Regions from separate parts of the Homo sapiens genome. Here all the other regions are linked to region 5. Evidence: promoter capture Hi-C in 16 types of primary human blood cells and fetal thymus (Javierre and others, 2016). All regions are on one chromosome and are shown on one strand. Each heading gives the region's core, a stretch centred on a gene start or on the middle of the fragment in contact. The rest is flanking DNA. Distances are from core to core; before and after follow the strand shown.

Region 1 (3,065 bases), core at 347-2,846, 400 kb before region 5:
GCTGGGTGTGGTAGTACACATCTGTGATCCCAGCTACTTGGGAGGCTAAGGCAGGAAAATTGCTTGAACCTGAGAGGCAGAGGTTGCAGTGAGCCAAGATTGCGCCACTGCACTCCAGCCTGGGCGACAGAATAAGACTGTTTCAAAAACAAAACAAAACAAAAAATAAAAACAAATAAAAAACACAAACCACCACCACCACCAACAAAGTCTTAGCTATTACAATGATTTGTGGTCATGCAAAGTTTAACACTATCGAACTCAGTCTTATTCCTTAGTATTTAATTTCATGAGCAGTGGAGAGATTAGTTTAAAAATGTCCACAAATTCACAGAAATACTGGACGAAATGGAAGACGGCATTAATGAAATCAGCTCATCTTTTTTGTTTTTTTTTTGAGGTGGAGTCTTGTTCTGTCGCCCAGGCTGGAGTGCAGTGGCGCTATCTAGGCTCACTGCAAGCTCTGCCTCTCAGGTTCAAGCAATTCTCCTGCCTCAGCCTCCTGACTAGCTGGGACTACAGGCGCCCGCCACCATGCCCAGCTAATTTTTTGTATTTTTAGTAGAGACGGGGTTTCACCGTGTTAGCCAGCATGGTCTCAATCTCCTGACCTCGTGATCCGCCCGCCTCAGCCTCCCAAAGTGCTGGGATTACAGGCGTGAGCCACCGTGCCCGGCCGAAATCAGCTCATCTTTTTAGCTCATTTGTAATTCCATGTGGCTCAGACTCATGTGACTTTGAAGACCAGCTGGTGCTGGGGCCCAGACCTGTGGGATGGGTCTGTGGCAGAGGGGAGGAGGGGGGCTTGCGCCTCCCAAGAAGATTCTGATTCCAGGACCCCAGCATTGGAATGAATGGGTCCCCCAGGCCCAGGGGTGGCCTCCACAGCTCCAGGGAAGAGCTACTGAAGCCACTGAGTTCTTGACAGATGTGGCTCTGGGTTTATTAATTCCTCCATCAAAGACCACAACCCCCAGCCACGAGGGTGAGCAGGTTAGAATCCACTCTCCTTCCAACCATCTCCCAGTGAGTGGCGCTTTGTTCTTCTTGCTTGGGATGTTGGAAGACCAGTGTTAACTATGCTACCAGGGGAGCAGCATGTCATGTTCAGAGACATTGTCATATCTCGGCAATATGAATGTTTCATCCAACTTTTTGTTGCTTGCTAGCAAGCCAGCATGAAGGACCAGCTGCATGGCTCTATCTTAAAGTGAGGACACAGCTGCCCCTGTCCCCAGTTTTCATGGCCCTCGCTCCTTCCCCAACTCCAGACCTCAGGAATTGCGTGGCGGAGAGAAGGGGTTGGCCTGGGATCACTGAGGCAGCATCGTCTCCAGCAGCTGCCCCCATGCCGGATCTGTGAGGGCAGGCATCAGGGCTTCCCCAAGATGACTCCACCACCTGTCCTGTGCTCAGTGGAAGAGTGGCCAATGAGGCTGTTCGGCAATCTCAAAATATCCTCAGTTCAGAGCCCAGTTTTCCCTTCTGTGTGGCCTTTGCAAGGCACCTTGTCTCCCAAAGGCTGTTTTCTATTGTACAAAATGGGACCGCTTAGGACATGATATCTGCCTCCGAGGACTGTTTGAGGGCTGAATGAGGTATGTGCAGCAGGTAATGGAGACCGGAGCCCAGAATATGGCCCAGCTTGAGTGTGATCAGTGAAGACGTCAGGGTGACATGCACTGACAGTCCCTCATCTCTGGTTCCTGGCTTGCATGTCTGCAGACAGCAGCTACAGTTTGGCAATGTAGGCAAGAAGGATGGGTCTCCCTGGGGTATAGCCTCTCAATTTATTTTCTTTCTTCCTTCCTTCCTTCCTTCCTTCCTTTCTTTCTTTTCTTTCTTTCTTTCTTTCTTTCTTTCTTTCTTTCTTTCTTTCTTTCTTTCTTTCTTTCTTTCTTTCCTTCCTTCTCTTTTCTTACTCTTTTTTTCGTTTTTCTTTTTTTTGAGATGGAGTCTCACTTTGTTGCCCAGGCTGGAGTGCAGTGGCATGATCTCAGCTCACTGCAACCTCCACCTCCCGGGTTCAAGCGATTCTCATGTCTCACCCTCCCAAGTAGCTGGGATTACAGGCATGCACCACCATACCCAACCAAATTTTTTGTATTTTTTTTTTTGAGACAGTTTTCACCATTTTGGCCAGGCTGGTCTCGAACTCCTGACCTCAAGTGATCCGCCCGCCTCGGCCTCCCAAAGTGCTGGAATTACAGGCATGAACCACTGCACCTGGCTGAGCCTCTCAATTTTCAAGGAAAGTCAGACTCTGTGCAGAAGGGAACCCCACAGGATGTGGTAACGAAGTTTGCATGGGCTAGCCTGGGAACCTGACTGTTTGCATGAGCTAGCCTGGGAACCTGACTGTCCACATGCTGTGAAACCAGCAACTCACTCAATCTGCAAGAAGACCTGGGGGTGGGATTGTTCTCTGCTGGGCTCAGGCCACATCAGGGGCTCTTATCCAACCTTGCCTGCCCAGCCAATGGATGACAGTGAGCTGGGAGGAAGCTCATTGACTAGGAAAGGGTCTCCACCTCTTGCCTTCCTGGCCTCCATATGGACCCACTGTGTGACCCTGACCAAGTCCCCAAATCTCCCTTGAGTGCTGGGATGAATAAAGCTGTGCTGGGTGGCCTCCCAGGCTGCAGCCCAGATCCAGAGGCTCCATGATCTCCCACTATCACCAAAAGGTAACATCTGTGGGGCCCAGCTTGGGGCTCTGGTCTCCTGGGAAGTTTGGTCTTTTGGGTTCAGGAACTGACTCCAAAGACCAAACTTGGTTTGGCTCAAATTTGGCTGCTTAGCAGGGGAGATCCCTTGGCTCTTGTGGTCTGGGCTTGGCAGCCCTAAGCTGTTCCCCGAGCCATGTCATTACTCTCACTTCCTCCTCCCCTTTCCTCCCACCCCACCCCCATTCTACTCCCTCCCTGCCACCCACACACTCCCCTCTCTTAATGAGTCCCAGGGAGATGCTGCCTGCCTTACATCACCTTCCCCGTTGGCAGAAGAGAGGCCCCGAGAGCCCCTGGCATGCTTGGCTCTGCTAAGCGCGGCCCTGACTCAGGGTT
Region 2 (3,364 bases), core at 267-2,766, 340 kb before region 5:
TTTCGGGGAGGGAGGGAGGTCCTGTTTCTCTTTCCTGCATGGCTTGGACTCCTGACAAGGACACACGGACAATTCCCTTTTATTACATCTGAGCCACCTCCAGTTTTCCACAGTTCTGCGATCATTAAAATAACATGGAAGGCCAGGCGTGGTGGCTCACACCTGTCATCCCGGCACTTTGGGAGGCCGAGGATGGCGGATCACCTGACATCAGGAGTTCGAGACCAGCCTGGCCAACATGGCAAAACCCTGCTTCCACTAAAAATACAAAATTAGGCAGGGCATGGTGGCTCACACCTGTCATCCCAGTACCTTGGGAGGCTGAGGCAGGCAGATCACGAGATCAGGAGTTCAAGACCATCCTGGCCAACATGGTGAAACCCCGTCTCTACTAAAAATACAAAAATTAGTTGGGCGCGGTGGCGGGCACCTGTATTCCCAGCTACTCAGGAGGCTGAGGTAGGACAATCACTTGAACCCGGGAGGCAGCGGTTGCAGTGAGCCAAGATTGGGCCACTGCACTCCAGCCTGGGCAACAGAGCAAGACTCCTTCCCAAGAGAAAAAAAATAAGTGATATAGAAGACTAATGATACCCCAAAATCACCACGTAGGAAAATTAGCTTTCTCATTGTTTGAAGACAATCTTCAGAGTGTTTCCTTGTCAGGGCAGAGCAGCCTTAAACCCTCGGTTGGGTTTCCTTTCATCCTGATTCATCTGCCTAATTCTTGGGAGGATTCCACTTTGAAAATGTAATTGACCATAGGCGAAACAAAGGCCATTGATGGCTTTGCGAGAGAGCATGTGTATACGGTATTTGATGGGCTAATTTTACCGTGTTTTAATTACAACCCTGGATAGCATAATAAATTTGTGTTCAATTAGGCTGAAGTCATCAACTGCTGAATACATTATACATTTTGTTAAATCAGCACAACTGATGTTATAAGCTTCACTGTAATATCAAGCAAAGATGCTGTTGTCAGATGAACTTAGCCTCCCAATCCCTATTCAAACATGTATGCATAGACATAGAATTGGTTAAATAAAGAAATAACAACTTTATCATCAATATGAATGTGGACATAAAATCCAAGCATGAAGCGTAGAGCAAAGTCCACAAGAGATCTGTAATGCTCTCTGCCTGCACGGCTGTAAGCTACAGAAATAGGGTGGTCATTCAGGCAAAACTCACTCTCCTGCTGAACAGGAGGAAGCAGAAAGGTTCAGGCTTGATCACCACAACTTTGACCCATAGCTGCAGCAGATATTTTGAATGAAGTGCAGATTAAATATTCTAGCTTTTGGGCAGGGCGCGGTGGCTCACGCCTGTAATCCCAACACGCTGGGAGGCCAAGGCAGGTGGATCACGAGGTCAGGAGATGAAGACCATCCTGGCTAATACGGTGAAACCCCGTCTCTACTAAAAATACAAAAAATTAGCCAGGCATGGTGGTGGGCGCCTGTAGTCCCAGCTACTTGGGAGGCTGAGGCAGGAGAATGGTGTGAACCTGGGAGGTGGAGCTTGCGGTGAGCCGAGATCACGCTGCTGCAGTCCATCCTGGGCGACAGAACAAGACTATCTCAAGAAAAAAAAAAATTCTAGCTTTTTTTTTTTGTTGTTGTTGTTCTAGCTGGAAAAATAAACCAAAATGGTGATTAAGAACTGGAGTGGACATCACTAGTGTTCACCAGTATCCCATTCTCCTCTCCTTCCTAGCACAAGGATGCCACATCCTTGACAGTAGGCCAGTCTGTGCAACTAGATCTGGCCAATGATATATAGTATAAGAAGTGTCATTAAAAACAGCAAAAAACAGACAAAAGAAGTGGCATATGTCCCTTTTGTGCCAAGGCACTGAACAGATGTCTCAATTCTCCAGTCTCTCTTCTTCCCTTGTCTTGATGATTGAGAAGGCTTCCATAAGCCTGGATCCCTGAGTGACTGTGTGGAGGAAAGCATATCCAGCCTTTCCTCCTGGCCCTGTCTGCACATGCTGGATATACACGATGAGCGAGAAAGAAATCATTGTTGTATTAAGTCACTGAGATGTTGGAGTTATTTGTTAATGCACAAAGCTTCTCTTAATGACTAATATAAGAATTAAAAAATCATTGAGGCTGGGCACGATAGGCTCATGCTTGTAATCTCAGCACTTTGGGAAGCTGAGGTGGGAGGATTGCTTGAGCCCAGGAGTTCAAAACTAGCCTGGGCAACATAGTGAGATCCCGTCTCTACAAAAAGTAAAAAAAGAAAATTAGCCAGGTGTGGTGGTACACACCTGTAGTCCCAGCTACTCTGGAGGATGAGGTGAGAGGATCGCTTGAGACCAGGAGGTTGAGGCCACAGTGATCTGTGAGCATGTCACGGCACTAACAGAGTGAGACCTTGTCTAAAAAAAATAATTGAAATATGATAAAATATGGTAAAACCCAAAAAGAACATCAGCTTGGGCCATCAATTTATTGTGTCTCTGATGAGAGAGCTTTAATGAAGCCAAGACAGTCTCTTGGAGGGCTTGGGGTCATTATTTTGGTCATTAATGGTTAATGTACACTAATATGCCACTGTGTCTTTGTCTCTTGGCACCTGGGCCATAGTTTTGACCTGACCTTCCTAGGTCCTATGTTTATAAAATATACCTAGAACTTCATTCATTCATTCGTTCATTCATATATTCTAAGCATCAGGGTATGTTAGGGACTGTACCAGGAGCTGAAGGGGGAGTTATTGGGAGTTCATCACGTGGTAGGCACGGTGCCACAATATTTCACGCATTATCAGGCTTAATGCTCACCCCACTACACGTGGCAGGAGGCATACTCATCTGCATTTTAGGGAATTGGAGGAAGGAAGGAACTTGTTCAAGGTGCACCTCCAGGGAGCTGCCAAAGCAGAATCTGAGCCTGACCTTTGGATCTGAGAAACTGCACTTTAGCCACTGCCCAGTGGTAGCAGGATGACTGCCTGCCAGCCACGCTTCTGAAATGCCAACCTGTTCTTGTCACTCCTCTACTCAAGCCCTTCAAAGACTCCCTACTGCTCTTGGGATAAAATCCCATGTCTTCAGCCTGGCCTCAAGGCCCCTGCAAGCAGGTTCATGCCTGCCTCGGCCACCCCAACCTGAACATAAAATCCTGCTCTTTTCTGTCTCAGTGGGTTGAGGGCTGTTTCCTTTGCTGTATTCACTGCCCCATCAGTGTGACATCTGTGTCCAGCTGTGAAACCTTTCCTCTTTCAGGAGCCAACTCCCAGGCTTCCGTCCCATCCATGTGGGTACCTGGGCTGCTGGGTGTTGAAAATCACCAGTGCCTGTCACATGATTCCCCCATGGGACTCACTGTGAGGCCACGGGCTCCTCTTT
Region 3 (3,121 bases), core at 113-2,612, 310 kb before region 5:
TTATTCTTTATCGATACTCAGATTTTCCTCTCTAAAACAAGGCAGGCTTTTGGCCAGGCATGGTGGCTTACACCTGTGATCCCAGCAGTTTGGGAGGCTGAGGCAGGTGATCACTAGAGGTCAGGAGTTCGAGAACAGCCTGGCCAATATGGTGAAACCCCATCTCTACTAAAAATACAAAATTAGACGAGTGTGGTGGCGAACACCTGTAGTCCCACCTACTCTAGAGGCTGAGGCAGGAGAATTGCTTGAACCCGGGAGGTAGAGTTTGCAGTGAGCCAAGATCGTGCCACAGCACTCCAGCCTGGGTGACAGAGTGAGATTTCATCTCAAAAGAAAAAAAAAAGAAGGCAGGTTTTTCATGAGGATCTTGAAAAAGGCACCAACCAAAGGCACTGGCCAGGATGCATTTAGTGGAAAAACCCCTTGATACTGGGTTTCCATTCTTCACAAGAAGTATTCACTTTTTTTTTTTTTTGAGACAGGGTCTTGCTCTGTCACCCAGGCTGGATCACCCAGGTGATCATAGCTCACTGCAGCCTCGAAAACCGAGGTTCAATCAATCCTCCCACCCCAGCCTCCAGGGTAGCTGGGATCACGGGCACACACCACCATGCCCAGCTAATTTTTTAATTTTTTTATGGAGATGGGGTCTTGCTATGTTGCCCAGGCTGGTCTTGAACTCCTGGGCTGAAACGATCCTCCCACCTCAGCCTCCCAAATCACTGGGATTACAGGCATGAGCCACCACACCCGGCCAGATGTAATACTTGAAACGTCAGCCTGACCTAACTAATTATTAATGTGTTAAACACCCTCAAGGGAGAATTCGGAAAGGCTGTTATACCTCGAATGGTTGATCCTAGTTTTGAATCAGCCTCAGAGTAAAGCAACTCACTTTTTATACTATAATTACCCTGCTGTGTGAAATTCAGTAATTTGCATGAATAACTTTCTAACAAGAAAAAGGAGTGGGGATTGTATGATTTTAAAAGCCATGTTAGTTTATTACACGCTAAGCTTGAATGGTGTATATTCTATGTATGCTAAGCTTGTTCCAGAAAAGCCGTGATGCTCTAGTTTAAAAGCCAGTTGACTGGTTCTTCCTTAAACTGCCACACAAAACTGTGCTTGGATTTGGTATTCAAATGATATCTTTGTAGTGAAAATGATCACTAACGTAATATGTAACTCTAACATGAAACCTGATTTTATTGCGTTACAGTTCTGATTTTATTAGAACTGGATCATTTTGCCAAAACGGTATACTTTGGTGAAAGGGTCCAAACGTCTCTGTAATTCGAAATGCTGTATTATGGGCTGGTTCTGTTATTTTTGTAATTCGATTCTAAGTAGAACACAAAAGTCATTTCCTGAATTTTGAAATACTATAAATTTAAACTGAGAAACAGCTGTTCATATCTTTAATGCATTCTCTTTGCCATCTGACAAAATCGTGCCTCAGTAATTGCTATAACACTGATCATTTAATTTAAATACAGTACTTAACCACATTTTCCTTTTTGAAATAGGTGGGACCGCATGAAATCTTTCTTTGTACATGATATGACTAATTTCCTGCCTTGATTTGAAACAGAAATCCCAGCTATTAATAATCTGGTGACATGGAAAATAAATCTCTAGCCACTAAGTGAAATTGCCCTAAAGCTTTTCTTATGGGAAATTCTTCCTTTTGATGTCCAAGGGTCAGGTGGATTCTACAAGATATAACCTACTAAAAAGCATTTCGTTTCACAGCAGAACACCATTTGCTATTAAACTGTATTTCTGACACAATTATTTCTGTAATTTTGATGTGGTATCTAGAGTATTTTGCTAAAAGGAAATTATCCCTTTCCTTTAATTTGCAATGCTTAATGTAAGCAATAAACTTCTACTCCAGTTTATTATGGGATGGCTAATGGGTGCTCTGAGCCACTAAGACGGATGATCACTCAACTCTGTGAAAATTAGTCTTTTCCTGCTTAAAATATTGTTTGGTTTGACTTTTTTAAGACGTTTGAAAAAGAAGCTCAAATCGACTAAGGCTTGTGATTCTTTTTTGTAACTGTTATGACATTTCAGCTAGATGCAAAATTCCTACTTGGTTACAGTTGATGTAAGATTGTCTGGTTGATGTTCTCTGTGCTAAGCTTGTTCCAGAAAAGGTGTGATGCTCTAATGGCAGTATATTTCTAAAACTTCCTGTATTGTGTTGAATTCTCAAACGTGGTAAGCGGCAAATTGCATATATACTTTTTATTTTGAAACACAGTCAACTTTTCTTCTTCTTCTTCTTCTTTTTTTTTTTTTTTTTTTTTTGAGATGGAGTCTCGCTCTGTCGCCCAGGCTGGAGTGCAGTGGCATGATCTCGGCTCACTGCAACCTCCGCCTCCCAGGTTCAAGTGATTCTTCTGCTCTCAGCCTCCCGAGTAGCTGGGAATACAAGTGTGTGCCACCAAGCCCAACTAATTTTTATATTTTTAGTGGAGACGGGGTTTCACCATATTGGCCGGGCTGGTCTGGAACTCCTGACCTCGTTATCTGCCTGCCTCAGCCTCCCAAAGCGCTGGGATTACAGGCGTGAGCCACCGCACCTCGCCCAACTTTTCTTCTTATAAGGACCCCAGTTAATGAATTCTTTCAAACTTAATCACCTCTTTAAAACCCTGTATTCAAATACGGGCACTTTCTAAGAGTGCTGAGGGTTACGACTTCAACATATGAATTTTAGGGGAACAGAATTCAGCCCACATCACCGATGGTCAACCTCATGTTGTATATATAGCCCCAAGTGGTTCTGCTGGTGGGATCCAGTGCTGACTAACACAACAGCACCTTTTTTGTGTCTTTTTGTTTTTACCCATCAGGCGTAGCTTCTTCCAGGCGTGCAACTTGAACAAGATCCACGGATTAATTTTCCTCTAATCGTGTAACTGATAACAGGAAAGACAGAAGAAGCCAAACACCCGCAGGAATTGAGATCCTAGGACTCCAGCATTGCGATGGACTCCGTCTCTGCCAGCTGTACATTGGCGGCCCCGGGGCACCTGTTGGCCTAACAGGTGTCACCTGTAGGGCTGCACTTTGCAAACATCCACAGAAGGCCCTGCACTGCTTT
Region 4 (3,127 bases), core at 235-2,734, 300 kb after region 5:
GCAGTGAACTGTGATTCCACCACTGCACTCCAGCCTGTGCTACATAGTGAAACCCTGTCTCTTAAAATAAAGAAAAGGAAAATGGCCAAATCTCATAAGAATAATGAGCTTCATGAAATTTTTACTTGCCCTATTTCCATTCTTCTCTCCCCACCTCTGTGATAGCCTTGAAAACCAGCAACTTCACCACCATGGGAACTGTGGAAATAAGCAGGCTAGCAGCTACCAGAGGGGGCAGAATAGGTTTGGAGCTCCCCCAAAACCTGTATCCCCAAAGAACTGTGACTATCTGACCTGTCTGGCAGCTCCTTAGAAAGGCACTATTTTCAGGGCTTTTCTTCATTTGATATGACTCAGAAATGCCTCAGTGAAAATAGTCCTATCCTGTTTGTTGAAAATAATCAGTGACAACTGTTTAACATTGCAATTGCCTGAGCCAGTGATACCAGTTGGCTGATGAGAAACTTAAAAGAAAAATCTAGGGAATAATATGTCATTGGGAGCTTTGAAAAGATCCACCATATTATTGGAAATCTAGAAAGCCATGTGCATGTACAAGGCTATGAACATGGCTAGGAAATACATGAGAAGGCCCTCGTTTCTCATTCCTAGTTGATCATGAGGCTGTGCAAGCACAGTAAGGACTGGGGCAGAATTTTAAACTGCCAGAGCATCAGATGCATGCTCCAACACACATACAGAGACTCTTAGCAAAACCAGGGAGACATATTGGCTCAAATAATTTAAGGAGGCCAGGCACAGTGGCACACGCCTGTAATCCCAGCACTTTGGTAGGCCAAGTTGGGCAGATCGCCTGAGGTCAGGAGTTTGAGACCAGCCTGGCCAATATAGTGAAACCCTGTCTCTACTAAAAATACAAAAATTAGCTGGGCATGGTGGCACGCGCCTGTAATCCCAGCTACTCGGGAGGCTGAGGCAGGAGAATCACTTGGACCCAGGAGGCAGAGGTGGCAGTGAGCCGAGATCACACCACTGCACTCCAGCCTGGATGACAAGAGCAAAACTCTATATCAAAAAAAAAAAAAAAAAAAAAAAAAAAGAATTTAAGGATATCTCTGTAGTCATTAGCTGACCACTAAGCTAACTAAACAGAGACTTTGGTGGCCATTCACAAATTTTTCAAAATACAGAATTAGACCAGGAAAGGCCCTTTAAAAATGAATGATGGCAGCAACAGCAATAACAAACAGCACCAACAATGCAAACCCTGTGGAAGGGGAATATCAGGGAAAACCTATTCCAGAGTTTCCACATTATGCAATTTTAAATGTCCAGTTTTCGAAAAATTGTTACAAGACAGAAAAAGAAACAAGAAAATATGCTTCATACACAGGATGAAAAATTAGACAACAAAAACTTTCCCTGAGGATTCTGTATTAGTCCATTTTCATGCTGCTCATAAAGACATACTCACCAAGACTGGGCAATTTACAAAAGAAAGAGATTTAATGGCCGGGTGGAGCGGTCATGCCTGTAACCCCAGGCCTTTGGGAGGCCGAGGCAGGCGGATCACGAGGTCAGGAGATCAAGGAGACTATCCTGGCTAACACAGTGAAACCCCGTCTCTACTAAAAATACAAAAACAAAATTAGCCGGGCATGGTGGCAGGCGCCTGTAGTCCCAGCTACTTGGGAGGCTGAGGTGAGAGAATGGTGTGAACCCGGCAGGCAGAGCTTGCAGTGAGCCAAGGTGGCACCACTGCACTCCAGCCTGGGAGACAGAGCAAGAATCTGTCTCAAAAAAAAAAAAAAAAAAAGATATTTAATTGGACTTACAGTTCCACATGGCTGGGGAAGTCTCACAATCATGGCAGAAGGCAAGGAGGAGCAAGTGCTGTCTTACATGGATGGCGGCAGGCAAAGAGGGAATGAGGAAGACACAAAAGTGGAACCCCCTGATAAAACCATCAGATCTTGTGAGACTTATTCACTACCACAAGAACAGTATGGGGGAAACCACCCCCATGATTCAATTATCCCCCACCAGGTCCCTCCCACAATGCATGGGAAGTACAATTCAAGATGAGATTTGAGTGGGGACACAGAGCCAAGCCATATCAGATGCTGAGAAGTTGGACTTAATAGACAAAGACTTTAAATTATAATTATTACAATTAAATAATAATAATTATTATAAATATGTCTAAAGAATTAACGGTTGATTGAAAAACAATAAAGAAGACCTCAATAAATGGAAAGACATCCCATGTTCCTGGATCAAAAGACAATATTGTTAAGGCAATACTCTCCAAATTGATCTATAGATCTAATGTGATTCCCATCCATTCCCTCTGGATTCTTTTCAGAAATTGAGAAGCTGATCCTAAGATTCATATGGAAATTTAAGGGCCCCAGAATAGTCAAAACAATCTTGGGCAGGGTTCAGGAGACAAAGTTGGAAGATTCACATTTTCTGACTTCAAAATATATTCCAAAACTATAGTAATCAAAACAGTGTGGCACTGACATTATACATCAAACAATATAATTAGGGGTCTACAAATAAATCTTAAGATTGACAGTCAATTGATTTTCAACCAGGGTATAGGACAATTCAATGGAAAAGAATAGTTTCTTAACAAATGCTGTGAGACAGTGGATATCCACATGCTAAAGAATGATGATGATCGGCCCCTACCTAATGTCATGTACAAAAATTAACTAAAAATAGATCAAGAACCTAATGCAAAAGCTAAAACTATGAAAATCTTACAAGAAAATGTAGGCATAGATCCTTATTACTTTGGATTAGGTTTGTTTCAGAGATAGGATACTATAAGCACAAGCAAACAAAGAAAAAATAGATAAATTTGGCTTCAAAATTTAAAACTTTTGTGATTCAAAAAGCACAACCAAGAAAGTAAAAAGATAACCCACAAAATGAAAGAAAATATGTGAAATCCATATATATGATAAGTTACTTGCATCTAGAATACAAAAAGAACTCTTACAAGTTGGGCACAGTAGCACATGCCTGTAATTCCAGCTACTTGGGAGGCTGAGGCAGGAGGATTGCTTGAGCCTGAGAGTTCAAGACCAGCCTGGGCAAATAGAGAAACCCCATCTCAAAAAATAAAATAAATAAAAAATAAGAAAACAACAAAATA
Region 5 (3,414 bases), core at 46-2,545:
GGAGCCACACACCTCCACAGAGTTTGAGTGATGACAAGAAGAGAGGCTTCCCTAACACTTCAGCTCAGGTGGTTTTCTAAACCCTACAACAATCTCGTGAGTAGCATGGTTACACTGCATTGAGTTAAAGGTCGTTGTTAATGTAAAGTTTAAAAATGTACTACTGGGCCGGGCGCGGTGGTTCAAGCCTGTAATCCCAGCACTTTGGGAGGCTGAGCAGGGCGGATCACCTGAGGTTAGGAGCTCGGGACCAACCTGGCCAACATGGTGAAACCCCGTCTCTACTAAAAATACAAAAAAATTAGCCTGGCTTGGTGGCACGTGCACCTGTAATCTCAGCTACTCGAGAGGCTGAGGCAGGAGAATTGCTTAAACCTGGGGGGCAGAGATTGCAGCAAGCTGAGAGAGCACCACTGCACTCCAGCCTGAGGGGACAAGAGTGAAACTCTGTCTCAAAAACAAACAAAAAGCTTCTATCTGGGGGCCAGGCAGGATGGCTCATGCCAGGCAGGAGAATCGCTTGAACCTGGGAAGCGGAGGTTGCAGCAAGCTGAGATCGCACCACTGCACTCCAGCCTAGGCGACAGAGTGAGACTCCATCTCAAAAAAAAAAAAGTACTAACATTTCGGTAACTAGACCCTGGCATTTATTAATTTTTTGATATATCAGGAGCTTTCAAAACTGCAAGTGGCAGCCCGTTTTCTCCACCTAGGAGGGCCGATGCCCCCACGGGTCCCTCTAACTTTTGGGGTCAGTGAGCGGCGGGGCAAGAAGAGATCAATCAGGGAAATCAATACAACTGGGGAATGTGGCCCCTTCCCTTGGTCCCCAAAACGCAGGGCTTGAAGGAAGCCCTCATGGAGGAAGTGGGCCTCGGGGTCCCCGGGGCCAGCACCACGCGAGGCAAACAAGGGCTCCAGGACCACAGTCTAAACACCCCCAGGCTGCCCTTGCCCTAGCAAAACAGCAAAGCGAGCAGCCCACTCCACACCGGTCCCCACTCCAGGGTCTCGGGCCCTACGTCGCCGGAGCTCTGGGAGAGCCGCGAGGGGGCGCACCGTGGCCTCGCTGCCCTGTCCGCCACAGGTGGGGTGACCCCGCCCACTCGGGGGGCCCGCTTCCCTCTGGCCACGCCCATTCCAGCTGCCTGGCCCCGCCTCCTCCCCGCCCACCCCGGCCGGGCCCCGCTCACCAGGCCGCCTCAGGTGGGTACGCCACGCCCCTCCGGCCCTGCGGCCCCGCCCCCGTCTGCCCCGCCCGCCTCAGGTGGGGCCGCCCGGCCCGCCCAGCTTCCTCTGGCGGCGTCCGGCCGCTTCTCCTCTGCTCCTCGAAGAAGGCCAGGGCGGCGCTGCCGCAAGTTTTGACATTTTCGCAGCGGAGACGCGCGCGGGCACTCTCGGGCCGACGGCTGCGGCGGCGGCCGACCCTCCAGAGCCCCTTAGTCGCGCCCCGGCCCTCCCGCTGCCCGGAGTCCGGCGGCCACGAGGCCCAGCCGCGTCCTCCCGCGCTTGCTCGCCCGGCGGCCGCAGCCATGTCCCGGGGGCCCGAGGAGGTGAACCGGCTCACGGAGAGCACCTACCGGGTAAGCCCAGGGCCCGGGGCTCAGGGAGGTCAGGGCTTTCCACCTCGGGGTTCAGAAGGGGACTTTACGCGGGAAGGTACTTTCCCTCCCTCCAGCTCCCCTCCCCCGCGTCCTTCCACCTCTCCCGGTCTCTCCCACTCCTCCCCTGGCCCTCCACAGCCCCTCTTCTTCCTCCCCTGGCCCTCTCCTTCCTCCCAGTCCCTCCCCATCCCCTCCCCCCTACTTTTCCTCCTCCTTCCCTCCCCTCCTCCCTGTGCTTCTTCCCTGTCTCTCTTTCCCGCCCCGCTGTACCTCTCCCTCTGCCCCTCCGCTCCCCGTTCACTCTCCCTCCTCCCCTGCCCCTCGACACTGTCCCTCCCCTCCTCCTGGTTCTTCCTTCTCCCCCGTGTGTCTCCCCCTCCTCCCCTGTCCCTTCTTCTCCCCAGTCTATCCCCCTCCCTCCCCCTCCCCCTCCCCCTCCTCTTGGTTCTTCCTCCTTCCCCGTGTGTCTCCCCCTCCTCTCCTGGCCCTTCTCCGCCTCCCCTGTCCCTTCTCCTCCCCGTCCCTTCTCCTCTTCCCTGACCCTCAGAGCTCTGGAGACCACCCCCCATCCCCTGACCAGCTACACATTTTACAACTAGTGCACTTAAGTTGGGGAGGGGTCTGTTGTGCGTCGGTGGGGCCCACGTCCTCCTCCCAACTTCTTGGAATCAGTGACCCGTGCTGTCCTGGCTGCCGGGCTTAAGCCCTCCGGGACCAAAGACACAAGCTCGAGTTTCCTCTAAGAAAAGAAAGCGCCCAAGAATGTGGGGGTGAAACTCCCCTGTAATTAGGATCGCCAGGTGAGCCGAGCTCTGGGCGTTCTCCCGGGAAACGCCCTCCTCCTTAGACCCTTCCTCTCCCACCTTTCAGTTGAACTTGGCTTTTATATATGGGTTATTTGGTGAGGTTCTTGAAGTCAAAGAACAACCGAGGTTTTAATGAAATTGACCTAACCTTAAGGAATGCGTTGATAGCCGGTCTCTTAACTTGCATGTATTAGGAGAGAATTTTTCCAGACACAGACAGAGACTTAGGATTAGTGGCCTGTTTAGTTTACATACTTACAAATGAATTCCAGGTGAAATAAGATATCTGTTAATCATCTGCTATTAATAGAACACAAAACAACTTTTGTTTTAATTCAGCCTAGGCGCTTCGAACCCTTGAAACTTTAACGTTCTCTAAGTTCATGTATAGGCATGTTTAAGGTTATAAATAAATGGTTGGTCGGTTGGTTGGTTGGTGTGTTTTATCTTTTTTCTGTCCCTGGTGCTTGAATCAGGAAGTTTAGTCATTTTGATAGACTTTTTTAAACCTAAAATTTTAGTTTCTGGGTTTTCAAGGTCTGAATTCCTAAAATCAGAGGAGTCTATTAACTTTTGTTGAATGAAAGTAAGAGAAGAACATGAACATTTTTGTTATGTATTGAAATCCAAGAGATCCGTTCCGTTTATCTTAACACACAAAGTGTATACTGTCACATATAAATTATGCCTTACAGGTAGGGAGAGTAGACACAGTTGACACAGCGTTTTTGATGCTCAGTCACTGTGACCAAAAACTCTTCTATTCGTGTGTTGCCTTCATAGAGGGCGATCTTTAGAAATTTGAGAAATTCGAAATTTGAGAAATTCCTACATTTGTATTGAGATTGCTACTATTTAAATGACCCGGAAGACGTTGCTGCATGAGGTGTGGGGTACTGACCAAGTGTGTAAATAAAACGTTCTTTCTGCCAGACTCAGACCTGGAAAGTAAGTAGTGGCTGCTCTGTTGACTGTCAGTGAAGGAAAAACTGTGTAATTGAGGA
Region 6 (3,374 bases), core at 851-3,350, 450 kb before region 5:
CCTCCGCCTCCTGGCCTCAAGTGATCCTCCCACCTCAGCCTCTTGAATAGCTGGAACCACAGGCCTGTAACATTACGACTGGCTAATTTTTGTATTTTTTGTAGAGACAGGGTTTTGCCAAATTGCCCAGGCTGGTCTCGAACTTCTGGGCTCAAGCAGTCCTCCCACCTTGGCTTCCCAAAGTGTTGGTATTACAGGGGTGAGCCATCGTGCCTGGCAAAACGTGGAATGTGGATTCTCTAACTCTTGGTGACAAAAGTGACCTGTGGTCAAATACCTCTGGGGAGTCGTTGCATTGAGATGTTGGGGGAACCTGGCTCTAGATGCAGGAATAAGACAAGGGTGCTCCTTATCAGGGTCCATCGATATTATCCTGAAAGTTCTAACTTACTTAGGAAAGTCAAGAAAATAAGTGCGGGCCTATGGTGGCTCACACCTGTCATTCCAGTGCTTTGAGAGGCCAAGAGGGTGGGGAAAGCTTGAGCCCAGGAATTCGAGACTAGGGTGGGTAACATAGTGATACCTCGTCTCTACAAAGAATACAAAAATTAGCCAGGGATGGTGGCACGTGCCTGTAGTCCCAGCTACTCGGGAGGCTGAGGTGGGAGGACTGCTTGAGCCTAAGAGTTCAGAGACTGCAGTGAGCTATGATTGCACCACAGCACTCCAGCCAGGGCAACAGAGCAGAACCTTATCTCTAAAAAGGAAAATAAAAAATAAAAAAAAAAGGGAGAGAGAGATAAAAAGTACAGTATAAATATTGGAAAGCAGACAATTTGCAGGAAAGACCATTTACTTGAAAAATCTGGATGGCAGCTTTGTCCAACAGAACCCTCGGCTTGGCTGGCACAGTGGCTCATGCCTATAATCCCAGCACTTTAGGAGGCTGAGGTCAGAGGATCACTTGAGCGCAGGAGTTCAAGACCAGCCTGGGCAACATAGTAAGACCTTGTCTCTACAAAAAATCATGTATTAGCCTGGCACAGTGGTACACGCCTGTGATCCCTGCTACTTGGGAGGCTGACACAGGTGGACTGCTCAAGCCCAGGAATTCAAGGCTGCAGTGAGCCATGATTGTGCCACTGGGTGACAGAGTGAGACCCTGTCTCAAAAAACAAAAACAACAAAAACAAAAAATTTTTGACAAAAAATTCTTCTGTCTTCACCACGTGGGGCTGTTGAGCCCTTGAACTTTGGCTAATGTGAGAAATTTGTAATTTTCCTGAATTTTAGGCCTTCTCTGGCCTCGGTTTGCTCATCTGGAAAATGGGCCAGCTGACCTGGAGCCCTGGCTGGCTCTAGGCTGTGATGACAGGTGTGCTCACTGGTAGCTGGGAGTATCACTGTACAGCCTCCCCTGACTCTGGCAAGTCCCATGAATCACTTCTGAGTTACAGGAAGGGGAAGCAACCGTCTGCTGTCTTCCTCCTCTCTCCTCCCTGTCTCCTAACAGGACCCAGATGGTGACTGAAGACTCCGTGGTCTATTATAACTATTCCATCATCGGGACCTTCACCGTGAAGCTCAAAGTGGTGGCGGAGTGGGAAGAGGTGGAGCCGGATGCCACGAGGGCTGTGAAGCAGAAGACCGGGGACTTCTCCGCCTCGCTGAAGCTGCAGGGTGGGTGTCCAGGCAGGCTGATGCAGTCTGGGCGTTCCAGAGTGGGGTCACCGTACGCACAGATCACAGTGGCTCTGGGCTGGACTCACGCCCTGTCTTCTGGAGCCCCACAGACCTCTGAGGAGCGTCTATCATTAACCCTGCTTCAGACAGAGCGCTGCAGGCCACGGATGGGATCATGTGGCTGTGCAGTGGCTGAGCGGCCCTTGTGCCCCGGGCTGCCTGCTCCCAGAGCCTGAGCCGGTGACCAGGTGTCTGCTGTGAATTGGCCAGTCCATGCCATTCCCTGTTCCCCGGCCCCATCGGCCTCCCACCGAGGCTCACCCTGGGGTGGGAGGGTCTCTATCTCTCCCTGGCTTTGGTGAGAGGGAGCCCTTGGGCAGCTGCAGAAGATGTCTTGGTTCTTGCTGACGGGATGGTGCTCTCCTGTGTGACACAGACGATGACTTGGCAATGGGCAGGACAATTGTGTGTTTGCCTGCCTTTCCTACTTTCCTCCCTCTGAGCAGGCTTCAGCACCTGCCACTGACAGGGGAGGGCAGGACCCAGAGGAACCCCGCACAGACCTGTGGCCTGCTCTTAGGAGAGGGACGGAGGGGAGGACAGGGTGGCAGTCGCACCACCCTGTGCCCTGGGAGCCTCGACAGCAATCCTTAGCCACCAGGTCTAACGGGGTTCTCTCTGCCTTACAGAAACCCTTCGAGGCATCCAAGTGTTGGGGCCCACCCTAATTCAGACCTTCCAAAAGATGACCGTGACCTTGAACTTCCTGGGGAGGTAAGTGAGCTCCAGAGCGCACTGGGGGTGCCCCGTGGGCTCTGCACATCCCCCTTCACGATGACCCCAAGTCTGTTCTGCTCTGTGACAGGCCTCAGGTCTGGGACCTCATGGAAGGGCAGTGCCACTTTGTCTTGAGGCTGGGCCATGGGGAGAGCATGGGCTCAGCTCCAGTATTTTATTTTATTATTTATTTATTTATTTGAGACGGAGTCTCGCTCTTTCGCCCAGGCTGGAGTGCAGTGGCGCAATCTTGGCTCACTGCGACCTCTGCCTCCCTGGTTCAAGCGATTATCCTGACTCAGCCTCCCGACTAGCTGGGATTACAGGTGCACTCCACGATGCCCGGCTAATTTTTGTATTTTTAGTAGAGATGGGGTTTCACCATGTTGCCCAGGCTGGTCTCCAACTCCTGACCTCAAGTGATCCATCCGCCTTGGCCTCCTAAAGTGCTGAGATTACAGGTGTGAGCCACTGCGTCTGGCCTTTATTTGCATTTTTTAGAGACAGAGTTTCACCCTGTCACCCAGGTTGGAGTGCAGTGGCACCATCACAGCTCAATGTAGCCTTGACCTCCTGGGCTTAAATGATTCTCCTGCCTCAGCCTCCTGGGTGGCTGGAACTACAGGTGGGCACCACCATGCCTGGCCAATTTTTAATTTTTGTAGAGATGGGTTCTCACTATGTTGCTCAAGCTAGTCTCAGTCTCCTGAGCTCAAGTGATCCTCCCAGCTTGGCCTCCCCAAGTGCTGGGATTACAGGCATGAGCCACCACACCTAGCCCTCAGCTCAATTCTTGAGGTCCCAGGGAGGGAGGACCTGCCTTTTGGGGCTGTATTCACCATGGGCATGGAGACAAAGGTTGGGAGGGATCCCTCCTGTTGAGAAGCCCTCTGTGTATGACGTGGCCTATTTTCCAGCCCCCAGATCTTTGCCCATGTGGTTCTTTCAGGGTTCTCTTCTCTCCCTTCACATGT

Evidence for each region. The method cuts DNA at HindIII sites, captures the fragments that hold promoters and counts their contacts. A CHiCAGO score of 5 or more calls a contact.
Region 1: a contact is called between a fragment that was not itself captured here and the fragment with the promoter of BAIAP2L1 in region 5, in 4 of 17 cell types (M1 macrophages, M0 macrophages, naive B cells and 1 more). The highest score is 6.8, in M1 macrophages.
Region 2: a contact is called between a fragment that was not itself captured here and the fragment with the promoter of BAIAP2L1 in region 5, in 4 of 17 cell types (M1 macrophages, M2 macrophages, M0 macrophages and 1 more). The highest score is 9.1, in M1 macrophages.
Region 3: a contact is called between a fragment that was not itself captured here and the fragment with the promoter of BAIAP2L1 in region 5, in 1 of 17 cell types (M2 macrophages). The highest score is 5.0, in M2 macrophages.
Region 4: a fragment that was not itself captured here is called in contact with the fragment with the promoter of BAIAP2L1 in region 5 in 1 of 17 cell types (non-activated CD4 T cells); the score reaches 5.3 in non-activated CD4 T cells.
Region 6: a fragment that was not itself captured here is called in contact with the fragment with the promoter of BAIAP2L1 in region 5 in 2 of 17 cell types (M1 macrophages and M0 macrophages); the score reaches 5.7 in M1 macrophages.

The regions. Positions count from the first base shown.
Region 1 is chr7:98,802,228-98,805,292 of GRCh38, reverse strand. No RefSeq gene overlaps it. Among named protein-coding and RNA genes, the nearest start is that of TMEM130, 66 kb to the left of the region's middle. RefSeq lists a silencer at 2,218-2,267. The HindIII fragment of the contact is 5,045 bases long and covers 1-3,065 here.
Region 2 is chr7:98,742,096-98,745,459 of GRCh38, reverse strand. No RefSeq gene overlaps it. Among named protein-coding and RNA genes, the nearest start is that of TMEM130, 130 kb to the left of the region's middle. The HindIII fragment of the contact is 1,129 bases long and covers 952-2,080 here.
Region 3 is chr7:98,712,091-98,715,211 of GRCh38, reverse strand. No RefSeq gene overlaps it. Among named protein-coding and RNA genes, the nearest start is that of NPTX2, 96 kb to the right of the region's middle. The HindIII fragment of the contact is 617 bases long and covers 1,054-1,670 here.
Region 4 is chr7:98,099,645-98,102,771 of GRCh38, reverse strand. No RefSeq gene overlaps it. Among named protein-coding and RNA genes, the nearest start is that of LMTK2, 5.7 kb to the left of the region's middle. The HindIII fragment of the contact is 7,442 bases long and covers 1-3,127 here.
Region 5 is chr7:98,398,971-98,402,384 of GRCh38, reverse strand. BAIAP2L1 (BAR/IMD domain containing adaptor protein 2 like 1) reads left to right here and starts at 1,295. Exons shown (of 14, transcript NM_018842.5): 1 at 1,295-1,583. The coding sequence starts at 1,533. RefSeq lists a silencer at 962-1,621. The HindIII fragment of the contact is 3,647 bases long and covers 473-3,414 here.
Region 6 is chr7:98,854,263-98,857,636 of GRCh38, reverse strand. TMEM130 (transmembrane protein 130) reads left to right here. Exons shown (of 8, transcript NM_152913.3): 4 at 1,454-1,620; 5 at 2,313-2,397. Among named protein-coding and RNA genes, the nearest start is that of TMEM130, 14 kb to the left of the region's middle. The HindIII fragment of the contact is 3,239 bases long and covers 481-3,374 here.